2 separate regions of the Homo sapiens genome follow, and region 1 is linked to region 2. Evidence: promoter capture Hi-C in human tissues and cell types (Jung and others, 2019). All regions are on one chromosome and are shown on one strand. The core of a region is centred on a gene start or on the middle of the fragment in contact, and the rest is flanking DNA. Distances in the headings are between cores, read along the strand shown.

The links. Contacts are between HindIII fragments. The study calls those that stand out against the background at their distance.
Region 1: a fragment that was not itself captured here is called in contact with the fragment with the promoter of PHC3 in region 2 in 2 of the 25 tissues and cell types used here (mesenchymal stem cells and ovary).

The regions. Positions count from the first base shown.
Region 1 is chr3:170,289,825-170,295,197 of GRCh38, reverse strand. It overlaps PRKCI (protein kinase C iota), which reads right to left. Exons shown (of 18, transcript NM_002740.6): 13 at 3,257-3,344; 14 at 1,690-1,815. Among named protein-coding and RNA genes, the nearest start is that of SKIL, 65 kb to the left of the region's middle. The HindIII fragment of the contact is 9,133 bases long and covers 1-5,373 here.
Region 2 is chr3:170,179,448-170,184,225 of GRCh38, reverse strand. PHC3 (polyhomeotic homolog 3) reads left to right here and starts at 2,493. Exons shown (of 15, transcript NM_024947.4): 1 at 2,493-2,524. The coding sequence starts at 2,511. RefSeq lists silencers at 2,339-2,478, 2,949-3,028. The HindIII fragment of the contact is 20,619 bases long and covers 1-4,778 here.

The sequences.
Region 1 (5,373 bases), core at 553-3,052, 110 kb before region 2:
ACTGTCTTGCCCAGACTGGAGTGCAGTGGCACGATCTCAGCTCACTGCAACCTCCGCCTCCAGGCTGAAGTGATTCTCCTGCCTGAGCCTCCTGAGTAGTTAGGATTACAGGTGCCCGCCACGACGCCCAGCTAATTTTTTTTTATTTTTAGTAGAGACGGGGTTTTGCCATGTTGGCCAGGCTGGTCTCAAACTCCTAACCTCAAGTGATCCGCCCATCTCGGCCTCCCAAAGTGCTGGGATTACAGATGTGAGCCACTATGCCTGGGTGCAATCTTTAAATTTTTATTATAAGATATTTAAGGCATTCCAGGAAAAAAAATAAGATATTACATATATAACTGAAGTGCCTCCTGTACTTTCCTAAACCCCTTCTTTTCCCATCTTCTCAGAGAAAGCCTCTAATCTGAATACTATTTATCATTTACATGAATGTCTTATTCTTTGACTACCTAATTATGCCTCAGTTTCCTCATCTGTAAAATAGGAATAAAAAAATACTTCATAGGATTGTTATGAGGTTTAAATGAGTTAACATTTGTAAAATGCTTAGCATATATAATATGCAATTTTTTTGGACACTGCCAAATTATTCTTTAAAGCTGTTGTGTCAGTTTTCATTCCTACCAGCAGTCTAGAAGAGTTCCAGTTGCTCCACATCCTCACCAGCACTGGTATTACCCAACTTTAATATTTTGATCAAATGTACCGATATGAAATGGTAACTCATTAACATTTAATGTGCATTCCCTTAATTGCTAGTGAGACTGAATGTCTTTTCACATATTCCATGGCCATTTGGGCATGAAATGCCTATTTATATCCTGTGATGGCTTTAATTATTAAATGTAGAATTTTATAGTAGTTTTCATACTTCTTTGGATTCTGTGCTAGAGGTCCCTGCACTTGTCTGCTTGTTTCTGTCAATTCTGTATATTCCCTGATGTGGGGCCTTTTTTCCCCATCTTTTGATCACTCATCATCTTGGTGCTCTATTTTCCCCTCATACTGTTCTTGAACTTATGCACTCAGCCTCAGGGTCCCTGTGTAAAGATTATCTCTCTAGCCACAGGATTCCTTTCTCCAATCTGTTTGTGATGGATAATTCTAAATAACCCCTGTTATGATTTTGAGTATGAGAAGGTAACTGTGAACAGGAGTGAAGACTATAGAAAAGAAAGAATGTATTAAAAAACATCAAAACCTAATACACAGAGGCCAGGTGCAGTGGCTCATGCCTGTAATCTCAGCATGCTGGGGAGGCTGAGGTGGGCAGATCACTTGAAGTCAGGAGTTCAAGACCAGCCTGGCCAACATGGTGAGACCCTGTCTCTACTAAAAATACAAAATTTAGCCGGGCATAGTGGTGTGTGCCTGTAATCCCAGTTACTCGGGAGTGTGCCTGTAATCCCAGTTACTCGGGAGGCTGAGGCAGAAGAATTGCTTGAACCAGGGAGGTGGAGGTTGCATGGAGCCGAGATTGCGCCCCTGCACTCCAGCCTGGGCAAAAGAGTGAGACCTTGTCTCAAAAACAAACAAAAACAACAACAAAACCTAATACCACCAGTCAGGATTATATTTTCCAGATTATGCTCATTTTTCTTACTCAAAGTAGTAACCTGAATCACTCTCATTTGTACTCTAGAATAGGTTTTTCTCAGAGAATCTCTGTAAAATACTCCAAATTACCTTGGAAGAGATAATCCTCTGTGTTCTGGTCAGGGTTATCGGAGCTCCCAACAATATCAAATGGAGACCTTCCTGCCATCATCTCAAACATGAGCACTCCAAGAGCCCACCAGTCAACACTGAAACCTTCAGAAAGAAATTTTAAAGCAATAAATTATACACTTTGCATTCTTGAAAGTTAGTAACTGGAAATTTTATCACATAAAGGAAAAAGAAACAATGAAAAAGTAAACTCTAAATGCATTCCAACTATCATGGTAGGCACTGAAGATTATAGAAATGCTTCATTTATCAACAAGGGTAGGTACCTAAAAGATAATTTTAAAAATAAAATTATGAGAAAAAAAAACTTTCTTTCTCCATGTATTTCTACTTTCAGACTCATGCCCAATATCTAATATTGTGTGTTGAGGATATAATTAAATTGTATTTCAGAGTAATCTCCTTGGTCTTTTTTTTTTTTTTTTTGAGATGGGGTCTCACTCTGTCGCCCAGGCTGGAGTGCAGTGGTGCAATCTCGGCTCACTGCAAGCTCCACCTCCCGGGTTCACGCCATTCTCCTGCCTCGGCCTCCCGAGTAGCTGAGACTACAGGCACCTGTGAACACGCCCGGCTAATTTTTTGTGTTTTCAGTAGAGACAGGGTTTCACCATGTTAGCCAGAATGGTCTCGATTTCCTGACCTCGTGATCCGCCTGCCTCGGCCTCCCAAAGTGCTGGGATTACAGGTGTGAGCCACCGCGCCCGGCTATATGTTGGCAACTGCTGGAGGTGTGGACAGGGGCTTTTTTTTTTTTTTTGAGACAGAGTTTCACTCTGTCGCCCAGGCTGGAGTGCAGTGGCACAATCTCGGTTCACTGCAAGCTCCGCCTCCCGGGTTCACGCCATTCTCCTGCCTCCTTGGTCTTAAACTTGATCTTTTGCTAGCTGATAAAGACCAGTGAAGGACAGTGGATTCAGACTTTGAGCAGCTCTCACAAGTACCACATTGTCCTTTATATCTGCTGAAGGCAGAGGGCCAAAACCCAAAAAGTCAAATGTTTTCTCAAGATAAGTGTATCTTCGGGTGCCTGAGATACAGTTAATCTTTCCACCATCTTTCAGATTCCTGGGGCAAATATCCCAGGAAATCTGAAAAATTTTCCAGGGGTTCATGACTCTGGAGTCACATGGGTGCTGTTCTGAATCCTTGACCTTAGGCGAGTTATTTAAACTTTCCGTATGTCAGTTTCTTCAACTGTAAAAGGAGAATTAATAGTACTTACCTCACAGGGTTGTTAAGAGGATTAACTTAGTTAATATATGTAAACTGCTTAGAATAGTGCCTGCTACTGTTTAGTGTTTGCCACTAATAAAATATTATTCAGCTTGGTACCCCCAAATACTGCCAAGGTCCCACTGTCTCGATTTCAAAGTCTGGGACTCTCCATGTAGTTTTTAACAGGATCAAGAATCCTTATATTAATAAGATCACGTCAAAATGCATTAGTGTACTGTAATGCAATTGGTACCACATTTTACCACCCATCTAGCAATAGCTAAAATAATACCACCAATTTATTTATTACCATAATCTTCTCCTCTTAAAATTTCAGGAGCAATGTAATTAGGAGTACCACAGAAAGTGCTGGTTGTATCTCCTGGCCGTAATCCTTCCTTTTATTAAAAAGAACAGAAAGAAAGAATGAGATAAAAAGTTCTGTTTTAAATTCACCCTTTCTATTTCACCTATCATATAAGTTCAGCATCTGCAGTGATACATTAAGCTCACTTAACATCACTAGAACAATTGCCTTTATTATTATTATTATTTTTGACAGGGTCTTGCTCTGTCGCCCAGGCTGGCATGCAGTGGCACGATCTCAGCTCACTACAACCTCCACCTCCTGGGTTCAAGCAATTCTTGTGTCTCAGCCTCCTGAGTAGCTGGAATTACAGGCATGCACCAACACACCCAGCTAATTTTTGTATTTTTAGTAGAGACAGGGTTTCACCATGTTGGCCAGGCTGGTCTCGATCTCCTGGCCTCAAGTGATCCACCTGCCTCGGCCTCCCAAAGTGCTGGGATTACAGGCATGAGCCATCATGCCTGGCAACTGCCTTTATTATTAAAATCACAGATCACCACTAAATAGCTTGAAGAAAACCTGTCCTCATTAGATGTTGCTAGAGTTGATTCAATTAAGGTACGACTTGAATTTAAAATAATTTACATACAAGTTAAAATTTAATAACAAAATTTTAATATTAGTAGAATAAGGCATATTTCATGAAGAAAAGAAGCACTTTAAATCTCACCTCCTAATACAACCATTGATAAGACTACAATATTTTCCTTCTGTTTATTTTTCCTAAGAACACTTTTTTTTTTTTGGAGACAGAGTTTCACTTTGTTGCCCAGGCTGGAGTGCAATGGCACAATGTCAGCTCACTGCAACCTCCGCCTCCCGGATTCAAGCAATTCTCCTGCCTCAGCCTCCAGAGTAGCTGAGATTATAGGCGTGTGCCACCACACCCAACTAATTTTGTATTTTTAGTAGAAAATGGGGTTTCTCCATGTTGCTCAGGCTGGTCTCAAACTCCTGACCAGATGATCTGCCCACCTCGGCCTCCCAAAGTGCTGGGATTACAGGCATAAGCCACCATGCCGGGCCTGTATTTTAATAGCTGTAGGATGGAAAAAAAATAAGGCAAAACACACTAACAGGCAGAGTAAAGGAACTACCCAATAATTAATGGGACAATCACCAAGAAATTGTAACAAATATACACTTGCATACACTCAACAACATGGCCTCAAAATACAAAGAGTAAAAAAGGACAAAATTATTAGGAGAATTTCACAATCTCCAATCATAATAGGAGAAGTTAATATGAGAATAATCTATATTAGAAAATGATAGATCACACATACTAAAAATCAGTAGGCAGAGAAAGATTTGGAAAAAAGCTAGAGTTAAAATATATATATATATATACAAAATACATATACATGTAGAATATATGTACGTCTATATGTGTGTGTGGAGTGAGGGAGAAGGAAGAGAGACATTAGAGAGAGAGACTCCCTGCATGTAAAGATTATATATCCTTTTAAGTACACATGGGCTACTGGCCATATATTAGGTCATAAAGGAAATCTCAATGTATTCCAATGAACTAATATTCAAACCATTCTCTGGCCAAAAGGCAAATAAAAAAAAAATCAACAATAAAAAAGTCTAAAGACAACTGAATCATACATAATTAAGCATGTTTTAAAACTTTGTAAGCATTTCCTACACAACCGAAGACTTTCTAATATTAACAACTATATGAAATTCAACAGAACATATGTACCTAGAACTTAACCACTTTCCTATAGATTATACGGTACAAAATTCTAAACCAAAAAAGAGGGGCAGCACAAAACTCAAGCCTTCCTTTTTTTTTTTTTTGAGACCGAGTTTCGCTCTGTCATCCAGGCTGGAGTTCAGTGGCGTGATCTTGGCTCATTGCAACCTCTGTCTCCCAGGTTCAAGTGATTCTCACGCCTCAGCCTCCCAAGTAGCTGGGATTACAGGTGCATGCAACCACGCCTGGCTTTTTTTTCTTCTTTTAAGATGGAGTTTCGCTCGTTACCCAGGCTGGAGTGCAATGGTGCGATCTCGGCTCACTGCAACCTCTGCCTCCCAGGTTCAAGCGA
Region 2 (4,778 bases), core at 1,244-3,743:
GTGGCACCATCCCCGCTCACCACAACCTCCATCTCCTGGGTTCAAGCAATCATCGTGCCTCAGCCTCCGGAGTAGCTGGGATTACAGGCACACGCCACTACCGCCCGGCTAATTTTTGTATTTTTTGTAGAGATGGGGTTTCACCATATTGGCCAGGCTGGTCTTGAACTCCTGACGTTTGGTGATCCACCCGCCTTGGCCTCCCAAAGTGCTGGGATTACAGGCATGAGCCACCGCGCCCGGCCGATTCTTGGAAGTTTAATAAAAGGCCGGGTGCAATGGCTCACGCCTGTAATCCTAGCACTTTGAGAGGCTGAGGCCAGTGGATCACCTGATGTCAGGAGTGCAAGACCAGCCTGGCCAACATGGTGAAACCCCGTCTCTACCAAAAATATAGAAAAAGTTTGCTGGGTGTGGTGGCACGTGCCCGTAATCCCAGCTACTCGGAAGGCCGAGGCAGGAGAATCGCTTGAATCCGGGAGGCGGAGGTTGTGGTGAGCCGAGATCTCATCATTGCACTCCAACCCGGGCGACAGAGTAATACTCCGTCTCAATTTAAAAAAAAAAAGTTTAATAACAATGATATATGAGCAAGTCAGAATGAAAGAAAAAGCAGTAATATTTTAAAGCATCTACAAGGACTTTTTATTTTCTTTTGAGATGGAGTCTCAGTCTCTTTCCCAGGCTGTAATGAAGTGGCACTGTCTCCCTGCAACCTCCATCTCCCAGGTTCAGGCGATTCTCCTGCCTCAGCCTCTGGAGTAGCTGGGATTATAGGCAGGTGCCACTACACCCGGCTAATTCTTGTATTTTTAGTAGAGACAGGGTTTCACCATGTTGGCCAGGCTGGTCTTGAACTCCTGACCTCAGGTTATCCGCCTTCCTCGGCCCCCCAAATTGCTGGTATAACAGGAGTGAGCCTCTGTGCCTGGTCTACAGGGACTTTTAAAAGGAGACTTTCTCAATGAATTCTAGAAGTAGTAGTAGATAGTACTGCTATTAGGTAGACAAGGTAAAAAAAAAAGATGTTATCAGATGGGAAAAGTGGGCAAAGGGACAATTTAAGCTCACATAGATGGGAAGTGTTCTTTTCCCTTCCTTAGGCACATCCTGGCATATAGGATTTCTAAGACTAAGTATACTTTTCATCAGACCATATTACACTTCCGGATGGATTTATATCAATACTTCATTCTCAGTTCTTGAAATTATTGTGACTCCATCACCTCACAAAATGCAAAAAGAGACATTGTTTATGGTTCGTATGCTTTTTTTTTCCTGTAAAGGGAGGTAAAGATTTATTATACACCTTGAACTTTAAACTTTCCAAAGCACTTAATAGATCTGTTTCAGAACACTTTTTCCTCAGCCTCCTGAGTAGCTGGGATGACAGGTGCGCGCCACGACATCCGGATAATTTTTGTATTTTTTGTAGAGATGGGATTTCCCCATGTTGCCCAGGGTGGTCTCAAACTCCCGGGCTCAAGCAATCCTCCCAACTTCACTTCCCAAAGTGCTGGTATTATGAGGGTGAGCCATCGTCCCGGTCTTCAGAACACATTATATTGTATGCAAATGTCTATAAAACCCGCTCCGCTACTTCTTGGAAGACAAGGACTCATCTTTATTATTTCATATTTATATTTAAATGTGTTATTTTACTTATCTTTATATGTTTGTCTCACACACCTGAGTTGTTGGCATTTAGCAGACTACACTAGCAAACTGGTGGCTGTTCCTGCTTGTTCCTTGTGGTGTTCAAGTTTGCAATTCCTACTAAGCGCTCAGCAAATTCATACTGAAGACATGAATGATATGCCTAGGGTAGTCAGGATGATTCCTTAACCACTCATTCACTGGCATCTGAACACTATCTTTCAGCTGGAGAGAGGTACTGCTGGTTGGGACCCTCAAGCCCCAAAGCTCCCAGGCAACAAGCCCTGCAGCCAGCCCTGAATTTCCTTTCTCCCTGAGACCTCAGCCTCTAATCCTCGTGGGTATTTTCTTTGAAACCACTCTGCAGTTTGCATAGGCTTTGGTATATTTTAGATATTCTTCAAAATTATTATTATTATTATTATTATTGTTGGGCTTTTTTTTGGTAGAGTCAGGGTCTCACTTTATTGTCAAGGCTGGTCCTGAACTCCTCGCTTCAAGAGATCCTCCTCAACCTCCCAGAGTGCTGGGATTACAGGTGAGCCACCGCGCCCATATTCTTTAAATTTTAAATTTAACAATCTAAGATAACTTTTTATATCTTTATTACAGATATCTCCCCAAGAGGAAGATCCTGGAGGAGAGAAAGAGAGGGGTTTGGAGAGGAGACACTGGTTATCTTAGTGGGGGAAATCTGGTCACTTTCCAGAAAGAGCAATTCCTATGGTGGGCGGGGGCGATTGGAAGCTGAGGACGCCACGTGACCTCTGGCTCCGGGGGCTGAGCCGACCCCGCCTCTCCGCCCGCCGCCGGGGGGCGCATGCGCAGCCCATGTTAGTGATGGAGGAGAGAAGATGGCGGAAGCGGAGTGAGTGACTAGATGGTGACTGATGTCGTAACTAGGGGGGGCGAGTTGGGGCAGCGACACGTTCCCCCAGGGGAAAGCTCAGGGCTCTTTTGCGGGCAGTGTGGGGAAAGAGAGACTCGAGACCCGTCCTATCGTGGAGGAGCCGGCTAGGCCCGTGTCGCGGGGCGAAGACGAACTCTAGGGTCCAGTTACCCTCCAGGCAGGAGCGCCCCTTCCGCCATCAGGTCCCGGATCTGCGCGGCCCTGCGCGCAGGGTCACCCTTGGGACTCCGGGAGCTGGGGTTTTCCGGGGAACGAGCCCGGGTGGGCTCCTCAGGCGCTGTCATTCCTGCAAGTGGGCCCCGCGGGCAGCCTTGTTACGGCTGCCTGCGCAGGGGCCCGCGGAGGCTGGGTAGGGCAGGGCGGGCACTGCCAGGCCTCCTTCGCCTTCTTCTCCTTCCCGCCCCGGCGCCACCCCACTCCTCCTCAGCGGGAGAATCCGACACGCGGGGCTGCCCGCTTCCCTCGTGCCGGAGGCATCCCGGCGTGGGCCTGAGAGCGGCGGGGGCTGCTTGCAGGTCTGGTGAGGCTGAAAACACCCTGAAAGAAAGGTCTTTCCCTCGATTCTCTGGGTGCAGCGTTGCTGCCTCACACGCGGGCCACATTCTTGTGTGTCGGTGTGACGGTATGTTTAGTTAACGACTCCAGAACTTACTGTTTCCTGGGTAGGCCTCTTGTGCACCAGAACTGCTGGCTGTATTTTGCAGGTATTAGTATGCCTAGACGGTGGAGTTACCAAAGTTGTTCTTTTGTGCCAGGCCTCGAAATGCAGTGCGATGGTTTGGCCAGTTCCGCTCAACCGATGTTTAGACTTATGCCGAGAATTTGGATTCTCTGTGACCATTTTTGGTTAGGAGTTAGAACTGTTTACCATACTGTTTGGATTGGAGGGCATAGTTGAGCAGATTAACACTTTTAAAAAACCAGAACTTAAGCTGGCCTTTTGCATGTCACTGGTACACGATACGGTAGTAGTATGACAGGCAGCAGTTCGGTAAAAAGTTTACCTTACCTACCACTAATACTGTATAATGTTGAACAGTTACCATATGATGCTGTGATTTGATTGGAAGGCAGTTTGGAAAAAAAAAAAAAAAACAGAAGCATAAAAATGTATGAATTATTTACTAATCCAAAAAGTAAGTGAGGAGTCAGCTTTCTTCCTGACGGTTTTCCTTTCACTTTTCCTCTTATTTTCTTTTTCTTTCTTTGTGACAGCGTCTCTCACTCTTATCTCCCAGGCTGGAGTGCAGTGGCACGATCATAGCTCACTGCAGCCTGGCCCTCTTGGGCTCAAGCGATTTCCCCACCTTAGCCTCTCAAGTTGCTGGGACCACAGTCCTGTGCCACCAGGCCTGGCTAATTTTTTATTTTTCATTTGTAGAGACAGGGTTTCCCTATGTTGCCCAGGCTGGCTTTGAACGCCTAAGCTCAAGCAGTCCTCCCCCTGAGTGGTAGGATGACAGGTGTGAACCGCCACTCAAGGCCCCCACTTTTCCTTTTTTTTTTTTTTTGTTCGGTTTTTTTTTACATTTGGTTCCTCAGAGAATATAAATACTGTTTACATACGTAATATAGAACAAAGAAAATTTGTACTTAAAAAAGCAACGCTATGGTAATAGTGTATGTGTACCAATTAGTGCCAGATTCATTTGTTTTTTCATGGAATAGAAAGTGTTCTTACATTTTTATCAGTGCTGCTAATGTGGGGTGGGTGGGATTTAGTTTCTCAGAAGAAAAGACCGATAAGAAAAGGGAGATAAAACCAGTATAATCTCTTGTGTGCTTTTCACCTTCGAGGTACATTTCTGGCCCGACAAAAACTACTGCTCTTCTGGTTTCTAACAATATGGAGGTCCTTAGAATTGACTTAAAGTGTTTGAATTTATTCAAATACAGATTCTGTATTTAGTGGAATTTTGTACCACAACAAGTAAGATTATAGTATTGGAGGGAAGAAAGTCTGGTATAAAAGTGTACTTTACTGTCCATACATGAGGAAGTGACATAATTTATGTTTTCAAAATCTGGAGTAATTCTTTGTGAAAAAGATTTTGTAAGGGTATGGGAAGTTGCTGTTTGCTGCTTCTCTGTGTTCTCACAGCAATCTGCTAATAAGTATAACTCAGCTATTAGAAGTAGTAAGGACAGCGTTGTAGACTGATTAGGGGAAAAGCCAGTGTGAGTTAAAAAAATTACTTTTTAACATTTTTTA